Regions from separate parts of the Homo sapiens genome. Here all the other regions are linked to region 2. The links are contacts of gene promoters, found by promoter capture Hi-C in blood cells and fetal thymus (Javierre and others, 2016). All regions are on one chromosome and are shown on one strand. Each heading gives the region's core, a stretch centred on a gene start or on the middle of the fragment in contact. The rest is flanking DNA. Distances are from core to core; before and after follow the strand shown.

Region 1 (2,700 bases), core at 86-2,585, 2.1 Mb before region 2:
CTGTCCTTGCTCACTGCTTTTCTTCCAACTGCTGACATACTTAAAATTATCCTACTTAAGTAGGATAATGAAGTATCAACATACTTAAAATTATTTGCCAACTTCCCCGTCAGATCCTCCCCTCATCTTTCTTAGATTTTAATTCATTTTTCTTAAAACATATGTTTCCTAATTTGTATGGTTTGCAGTCCAGTTTCATATTCTACAGAGTGGGCTTTTTAAAATATGTTCTCTAACTCCCAACCTCAAGTGATCCACCTGCCTCAAAACCTCATCTCTACTAAAAAAAAAATAGAAAAATTAGCTGGGCGTGGTGGCAGATGCCTATAATCCCAGCTACTTGGGAGGTTCTGGCAGAAGAATTGCATAGTTATATGTTTATTGTAAAGAATACTAGAAAATGAATGTTAAAATAAACTATTGAAAATAGAAAACACTGTTTTCAAATTCTCACACTAGCACCCCTAACACTTTCCTGGGTTACCTTTATAAACATTTGGTTTGATAGAGAAGAAACTCTTGGGAAGACTTTTTTTTTTAATAACTGCTCTAGTATAAAATACATAATTATTATAGATCAGAAAAGAGAACATTTAAATCATCTGTATTTTTATCACCCATAGATAATCATTATTAAATTTGGTATCTATCCCTTCATTCGCATATATTTTCAGAGTAACATAGTGAAATTTCAAAGACAGACTGACCCAGATTCAAACCCAGTTCTGCTACTTCCCTGATGGTTTAAGAAAGCCTCTTGATTTCTCAGACCCAGTTTCCTTATCTACAAAATGTAACTAATAATAGAACCTACCTCATGGGATTATTAACTGGGGACTGAGATAATGCCTATAAGAAACTTAGTGCAGAACCTGACACATTATTAAGCATTCAGCAAATTCTAGATGATGGAGAATACTCTGTCACCCAGACTGGAGTGCAGTGGTATCATCACGGCTCCATCTCCCTGGACTCAGGTAATCCTCTCATTTCAGCCTCCCGACTTGCTGGGACTACAGATGTGTACCACCAGGCCCAGCTAATTTTTATAGTTTTTGTAGGGACAGGGTTTTGCTATGTTGCACGGGCTGGTCGCAAACTCCTGGTCTCAGGCAGTCTGTCCGCCTCGGCTTCCTAAAGTGATGAGATTATAGACGTGAGCCACCCTGCCCAGCCTAAATTTTAGATTTTTTTAAATTTAAGAATATGGGGCAGGCCGGGTGTAGTGGCTCACGCCTGTAATCGCAGCACTTTGGGAGACTGAGGCGGGGGATCACTAGGTCAGTTCGAGAGCAGCCTGATAACATGGTGAAACCCCATCTCTACTAAACATACAAAAATTAGCCAGCCATGGTGGCATGTGCCTCTAACCCCTAGTTACTGAGGAGGCTGAGGCAGGAGAATCACTTGAACTGGGGAGGCGGAGGTTGCAGTAAGCCAAGATCGGGCCACTGCACTCCAGCCTGGGTGACAGAGGGAGACTCCATCTCAAAAAAAAAAAAAAAAAAGAATATGGGGCCAGGCACTGTGGCTAACGCCTGTAATCCCAGCACTTTGGGAGGCCGAGGCAGGTGGATCACCTGAGGTCAGGAGTACAAGACCAGCTTGGCCAACATGGCGAAACCCCGTCTCTACTAAAAAATACAAAAATTAGCCGGGCGTGGTGGCAGGAACCTGTAATCCCAGCTACTTGGGGGGCTGAGGCAGGGAGAGTTTCCTGGAACTGGGAGGAGGAGGTTGCAGTGAGCCAAGATCACGCCACTGCACTCCAGCCTGGGTGACAGAGCAAGACTCCATCTCAAAAAAAAAAAAAAAAATTTTATGGAATCATGCCAGGCATGGTGGCTCACACCTGTAATCCCAGCACTTTGGGAGGCTGAGGCGGGCGGATCACTTGCGTCCAGGAGTTCAAGACCAGCCTGGCTAACACGGCGAAACTCCATCTCTACTAAAAATACAAAAAATTAGCCAGGCATGGTGGCACATGCCTGTAGTCCCGGCTACTCTGGAGGCTGAGGCAGGAGAATCGCTTGAACCCGGGAGGCGGAGGTTGCAGTGAGCCGAGATCGCGCCACCGCACTCCTGCCTGGGTGACAGTGAGACTCCATCTCAAAAAAAAAAAAAGAATATGGAATCAAACTACATGCCTTTTTTTTCTGTGTATCTTTTCATGTCATTAAATAGTCTTAAAACAGTTTTTTAAACTTCAAGAAGGGAAAACTCTCAAAGTCTTAAGACATCAAATAAGTCAGTTAAAAGGTGGTATCGTTTATTAAGAATTGTGATCCTTTATCATATTTGATATATGGATATCAAAATGGGATTGTAAGAAAACAAATTCTCAGTGGTGAGTAAAAATCACAAAATAATGGACTTGAATGTATTTTATGATTACATTTGTAAGGTGGGTACAGATAAGGTAAGCACAATTAAAAATGAGGAAAATTGATGTTAGGGTTGTGACATGGAATTTTTTAAATCCCTTTTTAATTAAAAGCAGTCATCTAATCGGGCTTTATTCCAGCGTTTGCAAATGCCTACATAATGCAGACTATCTCCACCTGCATGACTCAGCAGTACCTCACATTCATCATGTCCGGAACTGAATTCCTTATCTTCACTTTCAAATCTGCTCTTCCTTCTCATTAATTTCTGAAAATGGTACCACTGTGCTCATGTCAGTAAGGCTCAGAAATGGGG
Region 2 (2,700 bases), core at 167-2,666:
AGAGAATCGCTTGAACCCGGAAGGTGGAGGTTGCGGTGAGCCTGAGATCGTGCCATTGCACTCCAGCCTGGGCAACAAGAGCGAAACTCCGTCTCAAAAATCAAACAAAAAAAAGTTCTATGGTTTGAAGAGATATAAGGAAAGGAAGAAAGGGACGTGGCATGAGGCAGGCAGGGGAACATTTGTGTTCTTCCCCACACAGCAGCCAGATTGTTACTTTCTCAACACATCTGAGAGCATCACTCCCTGGCTTAAATAGTTATGTCTGAGCACTTTACATGTATTAACTCGTTTTATCCTTACTGTAGTTCTGAAGTTAGTCCAGGTTTTTTGTTTTTTGTTTTTTTTTTTTTAAGATGGAGTCTTGCTCTGTTGCCCAGGCTGGAGTACGGTGGCACAATCTCGGCTCACCACAAGCTCCGCCTCCCGGGCTCAAGCAATTCTCCTGCCTCAGCCTCCCAAGTAGCTGGGATTGCAGGCGCGTGCCACCACACCTGGTTAATTTTTGTATTTTTAGTAGGGACAGGGTTTCACCATGTTGGCCAGGCTGGTCTCCAACTCCTGACCTCAGGTGATCCGCCCGCCTCAGCCTCCCAAAGTGCTGGTACTATAGACGTGAGCCACCGTGCCCTGCCCAAGTGCAGTTATTATCCTTGTTTTGTATTTGATGAAACTGAGGCAGAGAGAGGTCGAGTAACTTGCCCAAGATCACAGTTACAAAGTGACGTGGGTAGGATTCAAACCCAGCAGGCTGCCTCTAGAGTTCACGTTCTCACTTAACCAAAGATTAAAATCCGTCTTGGGGGGTTTGACACCTATCTGTCCCTGCAGTAGACCCACCCTGGCCCATGCAGTTCGTTCCCTCTCGCCAGCTGCACCCCCTCCAGGACCTGGGAGCCCAGAAACCAGCCGAGCCTCCAGCGTTTGGCCTCCTCCGCCACCAGAGGGCGTCATGGGCCGATCGCCCCTCCGCTAACCGCTCATCCCAGGAAAAAGGGGCGCACAGAGGACAGGATGCCAACCCCAAAACCGCAGCGACGTCTCTCTGCCTTGGGGCTCACAGCAGCGGGCCGCGACCTCCCACTAACGCCTGCCGCAACCCAAGGAGGAGACAAAAGTCATCTTCCGGGCTGCAACATTAACCGTCATCAGCGCGCCTCTTCAGCGCGCACTGCGCCAACCCTGCGGCAGGAGGAGGCGGAGCCCCCGCTCTCGCCCCGCCCCCACCTCACGTGACCCGCACGGCGCCTCGAGGCCGGAAGCGATTGCGAGCCAGCGCGCGCGCTTCGGCGTTCCCGGCGGTCTGCGAAGTTTCCGGAGCCCGGGTCCCGCCGCGGGTTCGCGCTTGTGCTCGCGCTCGTTCCTGGAGTCGGCGGCCGCTGCGCGCGCTCGTTGCCCAACCCGGTCCCCGCCCCCAGACACGCCGGGCTCTCGGGGCACCACAGCCATGTGCTCGTTAGCGTCAGGCGCTACCGGTGGGTACCCTGGCCCCTCAGCACCCGGCTCGTCCAGCCCCAGGCCGCGCCGCTGTGGGGCCGGTGGAAGACCCTCCGGGACACGGGCCCGGGCAGGGTGGGGGGCTCGCAGGGATCATGAAGGAGGTGCTGAGTGAGGGCCGCGGGCGAACGGGGCGGAGGAGAGCCCATCGTCACCTGCTCCTCGAGCCCCCGGGCCGCACCGGTGTCCGAGGCCGATCTGATTGTTGTGTGTGTGTGTTAGGCGGCCGGGGCGCTGTGGAGAATGAGGAGGACCTGCCAGAACTGTCGGACAGCGGGGACGAGGCCGCCTGGGAGGATGAGGACGATGCAGATCTCCCCCACGGCAAGCAGCAGACCCCCTGCCTGTTCTGTAACAGGTTCGTCCGCCTCAGCGCCTGGCCTCTGCCCTAGGGTGCCCGGGCGCGTGGGGTCTGTGTGCCCAGGAACGCCTTCGGGCGGGAGGCAAGCCAGAGTGGCCTGTCTTTGAATTCTGGAACCACTGGTCTGGGGTGAGGGCTTGTGGAGAAGGAGGACCCTCGGTAGTAGAGAGGGGGAACCGTGAACTGGAAGGCCGGTTGTACTGCAAGCTTTTGACTGGTAGTGCATTGAATCTGTGGTTCCCAAATCTTGTCACTTGAGACGCTGAAAACAAAATGATACTGAACTCTGCACCTGAATCCTTCCAAGTCAGGGATGGGGTCTAAGAATATTCTGTTTTTATGAGGACAAGATCGGAAGTAACAGTGAAGTTACTAACGAGTTACTACTAACGAGTAACATATTTGGCAGCCACCCTGAACTAGATAATCCCTACGGAGCCTTCCGGCTTTACCATGCTAATTCTTTGACCAGTACAGAGCTTCTCAGGTGAAACATTTCTTTTTTATTTGAGCGGTTTCCATAGTCTAAGAAGGAAGTTCACCTTACTTAAGTAGGACTTTTCACTTAAGGAAAAAGACTGTAGTATCAATAATTTGCTCAAGGTCACAAAGCTGTGGTGTGCTTATTTCCAAACTCACATTCTTGCCACTTAAAATTCTGCCTGTTAGTCTTGGGAAGCTTTGGCTCCTGTCCTAGGCAAGTAGGCATGAAAGAGGCCCGGTTGGCATTGGCCGGTGTTACTTTAATACATTTTCCAGTGTTCCCTGTATCTGGGCATGGTGCTGAGTGGTGGTGCGTTAGTGTTCTCATCTGTAGCCCCATTGGGTAGATAGAATGCCTG
Region 3 (2,700 bases), core at 24-2,523, 2.4 Mb before region 2:
GGAAGAACTACCTACAGAGCCAGTTTTAATAGAGAGAAGGTCTGGGAGAATATAGTTGTTTTCTGACTCCACCCCTTGAATGTACAAGCATCAATATTTTAACTAACCTACAGTTATATTATCATGTCATATCCCTTAATACAATTTATTGGAAGTGTTGAGATGTTGCAACTATTTCAACTATGTACTCGCCACTGCCTAGTTCTTCCCATGAGCAGCCTGGCTGAATTGCAGTTCTTGAATGGGACTAGATTTAAACCATCTAATGGCTTCACTTTCAGATGGCTTATCTCCCCAAAAGAGGAAAGTATAAAGTATTTGAGAACATACAGATTGCATCTCTGTACCATGAAGGTTAGGAAATTTTTTCCCGTTGGATTATTTTTTGTGATCATCCCAATAATACTAGTATGATAAGTGCTGTTAGGATTATTATTTTATCTTATTTTGTTTTTTTGAGGCAGGGTCTCCCTCTGTTGCCCAGGCTGGAGTGCAGGTGGCATGATAATGGCTCACTGCAGCCTCTACCTCCTGGGCTCAAGTGATCCTCCTGCCTCAGCCTCCCAAGTAGCTAGGGCTACAGGTGTGAGCCACCTTGCCTGGCCAGGATCATTGTTTTATAGATGAGAAAACTGAGGCTCAAAGTAGTTATTTACTTCAAGGTCAGTTTTCTACTTTTGATAAAGGAAGATTAGCTAGCTGCATACCTATTCTCTCATAAAAAAACAACTAGAAAATTTGACAAAATATTTTTAAAATATATTTCAAGTTATTGGAGAGCTATCAAAGCAGGAAGAACTTGAAGGGCCAAGATCTGGAAGCTGAGAGATTATATTTGGCACTACTTTTCTGCTTGAAGCACTTGCTAATTACTAAGCAATGTCTTGGAGGCTAAGAAACTGGGCTGAAATCAACAACTAAGAAGCTGAGCAGTACCTTTAGCAATCTCATAGGGTAGGGATGGGAGGAGGGAATGGTGGACATGAAGGAGGGGACAAAAGTAGTAGTCCAGAGCCCCCAAGGAGAAGCCCTGGTACACACTCATAGTTTTCTCTTGAGATCCCTAAAGGGCTACACCCTAAAAGTCAAGGTGAACTGGAAATAGACCAGCCCTCACAAAGACTGAAGCTCAACTTCTCTTTGGCTCAATCCCTAATTGGACTCAGACTTTACCATGCCATTATATACTGCCTACTAGAAGCAAAAATTAATACCCTCTTGTGGAAGATAAAATCATCTAGAAGCTAAGGGGGAATATCTGTTAAGAGAGTGATTGTATTAGTAATTCTTTACATGTGGAAAATGAGTTTTTTTTTTTTACAAAGTCCTCTTGCAGCATAACTTCTCCAATAATCTAGTGTAGTAGACTTAGTTCATTTTACAGATGAGGAGTGTAAACCAAAAATAAAATTCTAAGGCCCCCCCCAACCATCTGAATGGACTTTCTTCTAGGCCAGGGCACTCTAAAATGTAACCCGAAACACTGATTCAGGCCATGACTGGAAGTGGGGTCACGCACATGCCTCCTTATACCTCTCCAGCATTAACATCAACACAGACCTTAAGTCTGATAAGAAAAATTGACAGTCTGTTCTCTTGGAAGCCTGCCATCTGGAGGCTTCATCTGCATGATAAAACTCTGGTCTCCACAAACTCATACAGCAACCCAGACATTCCTTTCTATGAATTGCCAATTAGAAAAATTTTAAAACTACCTATAATCTGGAAACCTCCCACCCAACACTTTGAATTATCCCAGCTTTCTGGACTGAGCCAGTGTATCTTATAAATGTATTTGACTGAAGTCTCATGTCTCCCTAAAATGTATAAAACCAAGCTGTACCCTGACTACCTTGGGCACATGTTCTCAGGGTCTCCTAAGGGCTGTGTCATGGGCCATGGTCACTCATATTTGGCTCTTCAAATACTTTACTGTGTTTGACTCTTTTCGTTGACAGGAACATAACACAGACTTTACGAAGAACTCTGAAAAGTGGTTACCAGGTTCCAGATATGTTTGGCTTCTATCTCATATCCATAGGCTTTTTAAGAAGTATAAAGATACAATGGATTTCCTAAACTAATAAAATTGCTAATGTAACTTTAAATAAATTTTTAACGTATGTTTGAAAAAAAGTAAACATTGGTTGAGAACATAAATTTTGTGTTCATTTATTATCCCACTGAATAACAAACTTGTAAATCATAAATATATATTACATAGTAAAACAAAGATTAGACCAAAATAGACCATAGTACCTTAAACACTTCCTATGAATTAACATATGGACTCTATCATATGTTCCTTTAGAGAATTCAGGATTTTTTTCTTTTTTGAATTTGGAAGCCAACTTAAAAGCTAACAATAATTATTTACATTTTGGTGTGTCATTACTACTTGTATAACTCCAAATGACAGAATATGTAGATAAAGAAATGTAGGTATTCTGAAGACCAGCTTTTGAGCATCCTTAAGAAGTCATGAAGATATTAACTATGTCTTTGAATAATGATTTACTGATTAAGAATTATTAACCGGCTGGGCATGGTGGCTCATGCTTGTAATCCCAGCACTTTGGGAGGCCGAGGCGGATGGATCACCTGCGGTCAGAAGTTCGAGACCAGCCTGGCCAACATGGCGAAACCCCATCTCTACTAAAAAAACAAAAATTAGCGGGGCATGGTGAAGCACGCCTGCAG

What was found. The method cuts DNA at HindIII sites, captures the fragments that hold promoters and counts their contacts. A CHiCAGO score of 5 or more calls a contact.
Region 1: a fragment that was not itself captured here is called in contact with the fragment with the promoter of PRMT3 in region 2 in 1 of 17 cell types (activated CD4 T cells); the score reaches 5.4 in activated CD4 T cells.
Region 3: a fragment that was not itself captured here is called in contact with the fragment with the promoter of PRMT3 in region 2 in 1 of 17 cell types (non-activated CD4 T cells); the score reaches 5.2 in non-activated CD4 T cells.

The regions. Positions count from the first base shown.
Region 1 is chr11:18,326,713-18,329,412 of GRCh38, forward strand. The region is part of intron 1 of GTF2H1 (general transcription factor IIH subunit 1); the gene reads left to right. Among named protein-coding and RNA genes, the nearest start is that of GTF2H1, 5.5 kb to the left of the region's middle. The HindIII fragment of the contact is 4,770 bases long and covers 1-2,700 here.
Region 2 is chr11:20,386,300-20,388,999 of GRCh38, forward strand. PRMT3 (protein arginine methyltransferase 3) reads left to right here and starts at 1,417. Exons shown (of 16, transcript NM_005788.4): 1 at 1,417-1,475; 2 at 1,720-1,855. The coding sequence starts at 1,448. RefSeq lists enhancers at 1,125-1,294, 1,168-1,775, 1,776-2,382, 2,238-2,287 and a silencer at 1,128-1,687. The HindIII fragment of the contact is 3,061 bases long and covers 1-2,063 here.
Region 3 is chr11:18,015,408-18,018,107 of GRCh38, forward strand. TPH1 (tryptophan hydroxylase 1) reads right to left here. Exons shown (of 11, transcript NM_004179.3): 11 at 2,148-2,700. Among named protein-coding and RNA genes, the nearest start is that of SERGEF, 3.7 kb to the left of the region's middle. The HindIII fragment of the contact is 3,043 bases long and covers 1-2,700 here.